Regions from separate parts of the Homo sapiens genome. Here region 2 is linked to region 1. Evidence: promoter capture Hi-C in 16 types of primary human blood cells and fetal thymus (Javierre and others, 2016). All regions are on one chromosome and are shown on one strand. The core of a region is centred on a gene start or on the middle of the fragment in contact, and the rest is flanking DNA. Distances in the headings are between cores, read along the strand shown.

Region 1 (4,646 bases), core at 1,282-3,781:
CTCACAAGATTATTGTCAAAACAAATGTGTTAATAGACATGAAGAACATAAGATAGCAGTGGCACACAGAATTGATAGTGGATGTTGTGTTGCTATTGATTTGCCATCAGTGACAAACAGCTGCAGAGATTAGAGAGGAGGGAAGGGACTTTTCCTGAAATTCACAAGACACAGCCTTAATGTAAAAGGACGTATTTTTATAACAAGTAAGTTTATCTAGGGAGGTAATAGCAGGAATGTCGGTTTTTAGGTCTATGATCTCAGGTAACAGTATAAAATGATTATCAGATTCCTTTGGATAATATATTTATATTTGGATAGTAAATTTAGCTTAAAAGTATATGCTTAAGGTATAATTTGATCAATTATTTTCTGAATGCATATGATCTTACAGTTGCCCATACTGAAACCCATTTTCAATTTTCTGCCTTTCAGGTAGAGTCTTGAATGATTTTCCTAAAGTTTGAATGATTTTCCTGTTGAGTTTCGTGAATGATTTTCCTGTTCAGTTGGCAATTACTCATTTGAAAACGCTTGGGCCTCATTTGCTCATAAATCATTTCCAAAGAGAATTTCAGAAATGGAAGGGTCCTTAGAGATTGTCTAGTCCAACAGTCTATTTCATAAACAAGAAAACTGAAATACAGAGATTGAGAGACTTGTCCAAGTTAGTCTTCGAGGGCTCCACCTTGACTTTCTTACATGCTCTCACATAAACCCTCTCCCTGCCACTTTCCTTAGTGTGTGAACTGCCTGCTGATTCCAAGTCCTTGTGTATCCTGAGTAAGCTTTAATGACAAACTATTTTACTCCAGACTATGGTGAAATCAAATGGTTTCTATTTATTTAACTTGCATATTTCATGTGTTTCCTCAACAGACTTGGTTAAGTACTTGGTGCTAGGTGTTTGGTTAATTCTTGCTAAAATTCCACCAGTATGCTTATTATTACACTCTTTATTCTCCAAAGTCAAAGTCATTAAGTAAAATCATTCTCTCCCGTGAAATTTAACCACTTAACTGGGTGGATACAACCTCAGTGGTATGACCCAGATGCTGTTTTCAAATTTGCAGCATGAGTATATTTTCCAGGCGGGTTTCTAAAAATTTGAGAGTCATTGCTTAAGAGGCTTAGCGTTCCTGTCCTCTGACAGAGGTTGTACTGGGCAGACCCATCTCAGGGCCTGCCAGCTCACACACGTGCTGGAGGGGGGCCTACCTAACCAGGTGTGTTCCAAGGGTAGGCTCTGCTCTTATGACATCCAATCCACAGTCTGGCCAGTCACCTAAGTGAGGCTTGAGGTAAAGAGATGAGTTGATCCAACCAGATTCTTTCTCATGGGAATATGGCTCAAACTCAGAGAGAGACAGGTAGTTAGTAAAAACAAAACAAAACAAAAAACAAATCTAAAAAAAAATGCAGAGAGAGAATCCATAAGAAAATGATGGGTCAGAACCAGCAACACTGTGAAAGCAGAGGCTCTGAATTAGAAAAAACATACAAAGAGTAACAATAAAAGACTCATAGGCAAATAGGGGAGTGGGGAGGCGTGAGAAAAAGTGAATGTGTTATATTAAAGATGTGAGTTTAGGCCCTCAATATCCTGCTGTCAAGGTCCAGTAAGCGGGATCTCTGTCTGGTGAGCCAGGAGAAACTGAGGTTTCAGCTCCAAAGCTTGTGAGACCCTTTTTCCTTTTCCGCTACGCATTTCCACCATACCCTAAATAGAATGGATTCTTGCAACCAAAAGAACTCATTACGACACCTAGGAAATTTTAGGGAGGTGCTAGAGTGTGCCTTCAGCTTTGTCGCAGTGTACTACTCACTGGCCACTTCCACTCTCAACTCTTCCAGTGCTCAAGGGAAGTTTTACATATGCAACACACTGGCCTTAACTTCACAAATGACTGATTTCCATCCCTTTTTTCTCTTCTGCAGAAACATAACACTAATCATGCTCCTAGAATAACTACCAAGATAGCCTTTAGGGGGAAAACGTCACAAGACATGAACGTCTCCCCTGGTAGAAAGAAAGGCTCCTCCCCGAGGTCTCAGAGGCCACACCTGTAGGCAGGAGCACGCTTTTCGATGGCGGAGCCCGGTCCTTGCCTCGCAGCCGCCGGCAAACCACGGTGGCTCCCAGTCCCCGGGGATATTCCGCGTCAGCCCGCACCCCCGGTCCCCGGCCCCTGGCCCCCCGCCCCCGGCCCCCGGTGCCCGCTGGGTCACCTGTAATTGTAGGCGCTGAAACGCTTGCTCTCTCTCAGCATCGCCCGGTACAGAGATAACACTTGTGCGCGACTGGAGGCTGCCATTTTGGAAAGAAAAAAAAATAAACGGGTCCTCTTCGCCGAGGTCCCAAGTACGACCCAACCCACGAAACTCCAGCCTGTGCGGAAACCACGAACGAAATAAAATGCTGCGGCTCGGCTTTGCCAGCGGGCCGGGCCTAAGCCTAAGCGGGCAGCCCTGCGGATCGCGGACGGCGCCAGGCGTCCCGCGCCGCTTCGGGGGCGGGCGCAGGCAGGGCTCGGGGCAGCTAAGGGGGCGGTGCTGGGAGGGAGATGCCTCCGCCCCGCCCCGATCCCGCCCCCGCCCGGAGGCTCGGGACCCAGCAGCCGCTCCACGCGGCGGGAGGGCGGGGAAATAAGAGGACTGGCCGCCCGTGCATCCAGCCAAGCTCCTGGCGGACGGATATCGGAGGCCCAGGCATTCGAGGGACGTGCAGTTGCATCACGGAGAGCCTTTGGGAACCGTCTGGGGTCTTGGCGGAGACATTTGTGTTTCGGGGGCAGCGCCCCTTCCTACATCCAGGAGGCCGCGTTGCCCGGGTTACCGAAGGCCGCCGCACCGACGCCCCGCCCCTGACCGCCGATGCCCCTCCCACGCCGGCTGCGGTCGCCCTCGGCGCTGCCTGAGAGAGTTTGCGGGATTTCAAGGGTGACTTGATTTCGCCTGATCCTGGTCGGCAGGGTGGGGTTTCTTGGCATTCCTCAGGCCGGGGGATGCGACGTCTGGGTGTGGAGGTGATGAGCTAGGGGTTCTGTGGCACTCCGGCTCTGCTCAGGGCGACCTGCGTAGGGGCCTCTGGGGCAGGCCCGCTTTCTGTCAAAATGGCAGCGCCCAGCGTGCGCGGGTATCTCTGAAGTTGGGGTTTAAGATTCTTGCCCGTGAGAGCGAACGAGCCTGCCGTACTTCTGATTTTGAAACACCTGGGTCTGGGCTTCCCGGGCGAGCGGTGGGTGAGTGCCGGCCTCATTGCAGCCTGGGGTACGACGTGGGCGGTTGGTGTTGTAGGGGGTTTACATTGGCCGTGGATTTTTTCCTCTTTCCGGATGTGTTTTTGCTTTTGAGTGAAGAGTTCCCGTGGTTTTGTAACCTAATAAATGCATAAAATGCAGCTTGGGTTGTAGACTTTGGAGAATAATTAGAGACCTTTAGGGCTTTAGGCTTTCTCCAAGAAGCGGAGCAAGTTTTCAACCATGGCTTTCTTCAGAAGACTGCAGCTTTTTTGAATCATCTTATTAAAGTGGTGGATAAAGTTGCTTGTTCTGATCTTTGAGCATGGCACTGGACGCAGGAAGCTTCAGCCAGTCCTAGTTACTGTGTTTGCAAAGCACTTTTCTTGTTTTTGGAATCTTGCTTTATGTAATCAACCTTAGGAAGAACCACACCTTTCTGCACTCAAGCACAGCGAGAAGTACGTTATGCGTGAAAACAAAACAACTTTGCATTAAAATCCATCTTTCTCCGAACCACTTGGTCACGGTTGTGTTCTCATCTGCTTTAGTGTATTTGGTTTTGAAACGATATACCTGCTGTATGTCTAAACAACTTTATATTTTCAGGAACTTTTCTGTTTCCTTTTCTTTTTTTTGAGATGGAGTCTCGCTCTGTCGCCCAGGCTGGAGTGCAGTGGCGGGATCTCGGGCTCACTGCAACCTATGCCTCCCAGGTTCAAGCCATTCTCCTGCCTCAGCCTCCTGAGTGGCTGGGATTACAGGCGCGCGCTACCTCGCCCAGCTAATTTTTGTATTTTTAGTAGAGACAGGGTTTCACCATGTTGGTCAGGCTGGTCTCGAACTCCTGACCTCAGGCAATCCGCCCGCCTCGGCCTCCCAAAATGCTGGGATTACAGGTGTGAGTCATCACGCCCAGCCTCTATTTTCAGGAACTTTAAAGGCAGAAAAAACACTTCTCTGACCTTACCATTCTTTAGTGTACTTGCAACCTGGTGTCCTTGCATCCAGATATTCTTACTAATCCTGATGCAATGACATTTTTTAAAAGGCACTGAAGAGAAAATACTTTTATTAAGATATCTTTAAGTCTCCTCCCTGATTTCTTGAAAATCTCATGTCTGTTATTGTTTATTATTATTTTTTAAACAGGATAGCAAAACTTCTATTACTTCCTGGTTGGTCAGGTCATTGAGCAAATCTAGCCTCTGCTTTATTGAAAGGACTTTTTTGAGTTTTCCCTTTGCTATTTCTTAAAGGATCCAAGACCAAGGCAATTGCACATTGTTATAGAGTAAGATTCAGAGCTGATTTCTCTTGATACACTATTGTGTGCCAGTGATATGAAATGATATGCGGCACCTCAAAGCTACAACATTAATGCAAGTTACTGATAGAGAATGCTAT
Region 2 (4,757 bases), core at 299-2,798, 5.4 Mb after region 1:
AAAAAAAAAAAAGAGGAAAAGAAAAGAAAATGTGTTGTCAAGGGCCTGGAGATCTCTGAAATACAAAAGCAGGTGGAGTGTGAGTGCAGAGAGGCATGAAAGGGATGGGAAGATGTGAGCTTGTGGTCAGCAAATAGCTTCCTAGAGGTCAAGAGTTCTAACGTGGAACAGCTCTATGTGGTAACGATGCCCAGGCTGTGGGTGTAGGGGACTGAAATGCAGGGGAGGCAAAGGTCACTGGAGTTGAAGTCAAGAAGTAGTACTACAGTTCCCGGCTTGTGGTTTGGTTTTCCACACTGGTGGTCAAGGTACCCAGGATAGTGGCAGAATCAAGGGAGAGAAAGACTGAACAGGTAAATTTTTTTCTTCAGTACCAAACATTTTATGCTGTTTTTGTTGCATTTTCCCAGGGGACAGAGAATGAGGAGTAACTCAGCCAAGAAAGTTGGTTTTCTGCAAAGAAAGGCAGATAAAATGGTGCCCTTTTTCCTACCCAATCTTACATGTATTTCAGAGGATCCACACCAGGCATTGGTTTCCAGCAGTAAATTTGCAGCGATAAATGGCTTCCTTCTATTAGGTGTTCCCTTAGTTTATTCAGACTGCTATAACAAAATACCTTAGACTGAATAATTTATCAATAATAGAGATTTATTTCTCACAGTTGTAGAGGCTGGGAAGTCTAAGATTAAGGCACCAGCAGATTTTCTTGTCTCGTAAGGACTGGCTCTCTGTTGCTGTGTCCTCATGGTAGAAGGGCAAAGCAGATCCCTGCACAATTCTGTAAGGTCAAGCTTGAGAGTTGGAGCCAGTTTAAAAAAAGCAAACAAACAAACGAAAAAAACAACTTTTTTTTTGGCGGGGGCGGGGGGGCTTCTCGCTCTGTCACCCAGGCTGGAGTGCAGTGGCGCGATCTCGGCTCACTGCAGCTTCTGCCTCCTGGGTTTAAGCGATTCTCCTGCCTCAGCCTCCCAGGTAGCTTGGATTATAGGTGCCTGCCACCACGCCCAGCTAATTTTTGTATTTTTAGTAGAGACGGGTCTAACCATGTTGGCCAAGCTGGTCTTGAACTCTTGACCTCAAGTGATCCGCCCGCCTCAGCCTCCCAAAGTGCTGGGATTACAGGCGTGAGCCACCGCGCCCTGCCAAAAAAAACAACTTTTATAATGTCGCCAGTCCTCTAATCCCGTTCATGAGGGTTTGCCCTTATGACTTAGTCACCATCACCTCCTAAAGGTCTCACCTCTTAAACTATCACATTGGCAACTAAGTTTCAGCAAATGAATTTTGGGGGACACTTTCACACATGGCAGACTGTCCATTGCTGCTTTAACAGCTGTCTTGCTCTTCATCAGAAGCTGAGCTTTGAGTGATTCAAATATACATTCTTTTTTTCTCTATCTCCTAGTCCTAGTTTGTTACAAAGAAGGCTTCTCTCTCAGGTTTGGAAGAAATAAGTTAAATTTGATCTGCCCAAACCCATTAGTACAAGTGTTCAACAATAAGAAAAGGAATTACATAGAAGGAGTTTAGATTGGGGGGTGAATGAAGTAGGGCTCTTGGTTTCTTGGTTTCCTTTATTTCTTGTATAAATCCTTTTTTTCTTTTTTCTTTTTTTCCTTCAACTTTTAAGTTCAGGGGTACACATGCAGGATGTGCAGGTTTGTTACGTAGGTAAACGTCCCATGGTGGTTTGCTTTACAGATCATCCCATCACCTAGGTATTAAGCCCAGCATCCATTAGCTGTTCTTTCTAATGCTCTCCTTCCCGCAACCCTTCCCCTCCCACAGGCCCCAGTGTGTGTTGTTTTTCCCCTGTGTGAGAACATGTGGTGTTTGGTTTTCTTTTTCTTTTCTTTTCTATTTCTTTCTTTCCTTCTTTTTTGAGATGCAGTCTTTCTCTGTCACCCAGGCTGGAGTGCAGTGGCAGAGCTCGGCTCACTGCAACCTCCATCTCCCGGGTTCAAGCGATTCTTGTGCCTCAGCCTCCTGAGTAGCTGGGACTACAGGCACACACCACCACATCCAGCTAATTTTTGTATTTTCAGTAGAGACGGGGTTTCGCCATGTTGGCCAGGCTGGTATTGAACTCCTGACCTCAAGTGATCTGCCTGTCTCGGTCTCCCAAAGTGCTGGGATTACAGGCATGAGCCACCTCGCCTAGCCAGTGTTTAATTTTCTCTTCCTGCATTAGTTTGCTGGGGATAATGGCTTCCAACTCCATCCACATCCCTGCAAAGGACATGATCTCATTCCTTTTTATGGGTGCATAAATCCTATTTTTCTAAGAGTTGCTAATAGATAAGCTTTTTTCTAGGGAAGCAAATGTGGGAAACCAAACTTTCCAAAGTGAGAAATAGGATAATAGGGAGAGGAAAATATGAACAAATGAATGAGAAGTGTGTGGAAATGGATCAAAACAGATCTGAGTGATAAGGATTGGATTGTGGCTGATTGGGTAGCTAATTCACTGTTTAGAAAGTGGAAGTCATGTGGCAGTACACCTGGTTTGTTCCCCAGATTAGCTTGTTAGCTGATTAGTTTTGTTTACTTCTGCTCAAACTATCCTAGCCAGCCACCTCCTAAATTTATAATTTGAAGACATAAAGCAAGGACGTGAACTGATTTGTTCAAATCTGTATCTAAACTGGAGATACTCTGCTGAAAATATTTGCATAGATTTGAACAACTGTACTTACATGAAAAAATTTAAGGTATGTTTTAGTAATATTAAGACATTGAGGCCAGGCACAGTGGCTCACACCTGTAATCCCAGCACTTTGGGAGGCTGAGGTGGGCAGATCACTTGGGCCCAGGAGTTCAAGACCAGCCTGGGCAACATGGCATGGTGAAACACTGTATCTACAAAAAATACAAAAATTAGCTAGGTATATTGATGTGCACCTGTAGTCCCAGTTACTCAGGAGGCTGAGGTGGGAAGATTGCTTGAACCCAGGAGGCAGAGGTTGCAGTGGGATAAGATCATGCCATAGCACTTCAGCCTGGGTAACAAGAGTGAAACCCTGCCTCAAAAAAAAAAAAAAGAAAAAGAAAAAAAGGTATTGAGTGTTTTACTTAGCATAGCATAGCCTTCAAATCAGAAATGGAGTTTGCATTTAAAATGAATATTATTTTTGCCTATTTTGGTTTTTCCATAGGTACAATAACTTGCCTGAAATTCTATGGCAACAGGCATTTAATCAGTGGAGCGGAAGATGGACTCATCTGTATCTGGGATGCAAAGAAATGGGAATGCCTGAAGTCAATTAAAGCTCACAAGTGAGTCGGGCTCTTTCCCTTTGGCATTCTCGATGTGCCAGTCAAGTTGGGGACTAACTTTTGGTTTCATTATAGAGGACAGGTGACCTTCCTTTCTATTCACCCATCTGGCAAGTTGGCCCTGTCGGTTGGTACAGATAAAACTTTAAGGTAAGTCATTAATGCTCAAGAGCATTTATCTAAGGTGTGTGTTTTACTACAGCTCTCCACCATCTAAAAATACTGTTATACAAGGGAAAGGTCAAAAGCTGGTGAACCTTTTCATAGTGGTTCATAGTGGTAGAATGAAAATGACAAGCTCTGTTTTCTTTCTTTTTTTTTTGAGACAGAGTCTCGCTCTGTCTCCCTGCTCTGTCGCCCAGGCTGGAGTGCGGCGGCGTGATCTTGGCTCACTGCAAGCTCCGCCTCCCAGGTTCATGCCATTCTCCTGCCTCAGCCTCCCAAGTAGCTGGAACTACAGGCGCCCACCACCACGCCCGGCTATTTTTTGTATTTTTAGTAGAGACGGGGTTTCACCGTGTTAGCCAGGATGGTCTTGATCTCCTGACCTCATGATCCGCCCGCCTCAGCCTCCGAAAGTGCTGGGATTACAGGCGTGAGCCACCACGCCCAGCCAACAAGCTCCGTTTTCAAACATGCAATTATGCTGCAGTCATCATAGCTGTGAATTGAAGATTTTAGAAAGGGAAACCTTTTGAAAATACAATGGATACGAGATGTTAAAGGGATATGGGAATGAAGCAAGTCTTAATCCTGCCTCATAATATTTCAAAATATTGCTGTAAGGAAGATAGCAGGTCTTCTAAATAGCCAATATTTAGTAAAATGTCACTTAAGTCTTCATTATGCTTGTTCTTTTACGCTTAGTAAAAGTTAGTTGGTGATCACACCGTAAGTGAGCTTCCTGTTTTGCAGAACGTGGAATCTTGTAGAAGGAAGATCAGCATTCATAAAAAATATAAAACAAAGTGAGTATTTTTGTTTGAAATGCAGGTTGAGCATTCCTAATCTGGAAATCTGAAATGCTCCAAAATCTGAAACTTTTTGAGCACTGATGTGGTGCCTCAAGTAGAAAATTCAACACCTTACCTCATGATGGGTCACAGTCAGAACCTTGTTTCATACACAAAATTATTTAAAATATTGTGTAAAATTACCTTCCGGCTAGGTGTATATGAAGCATAGATGAATTTCATGTTTAGACTTGAAACATGAGTTGCATGGGTTTTATCCTCGAGATATTTCATTGTATATATGCAGATATTCCAAAATCCAAAATCGTTCTGGTCCCAAGCATTTTGGATAAGGGATACTCAACCTGTATATTTTACAGTGACTTAATGGAATATGAATATAGATATACATTTTTACATGTGTGTATGTTACACATTTATTTCCCTGCATGGTGGTGGTTACCTCTGAGCAAATGCCTTGGGTTACTTTCTTTTCCCATTTTAGACTAGATTCTTTTTGTGGCT

Evidence for each region. The method cuts DNA at HindIII sites, captures the fragments that hold promoters and counts their contacts. A CHiCAGO score of 5 or more calls a contact.
Region 2: a contact is called between a fragment that was not itself captured here and the fragment with the promoter of LYRM4 in region 1, in 1 of 17 cell types (neutrophils). The highest score is 5.1, in neutrophils.

What each region holds. Positions count from the first base shown.
Region 1 is chr6:5,258,419-5,263,064 of GRCh38, forward strand. It overlaps LYRM4 (LYR motif containing 4), which reads right to left and starts at 2,532. Exons shown (of 3, transcript NM_020408.6): 1 at 2,230-2,532. The coding sequence starts at 2,315. It overlaps FARS2 (phenylalanyl-tRNA synthetase 2, mitochondrial), which reads left to right and starts at 3,095. Exons shown (of 7, transcript NM_006567.5): 1 at 3,095-3,242. RefSeq lists an enhancer at 1,763-1,812 and silencers at 2,023-2,332, 2,393-2,612. The HindIII fragment of the contact is 1,910 bases long and covers 1,673-3,582 here.
Region 2 is chr6:10,699,211-10,703,967 of GRCh38, forward strand. PAK1IP1 (PAK1 interacting protein 1) reads left to right here. Exons shown (of 10, transcript NM_017906.3): 3 at 3,159-3,279; 4 at 3,355-3,429; 5 at 4,195-4,247. Among named protein-coding and RNA genes, the nearest start is that of PAK1IP1, 6.6 kb to the left of the region's middle. The HindIII fragment of the contact is 1,512 bases long and covers 793-2,304 here.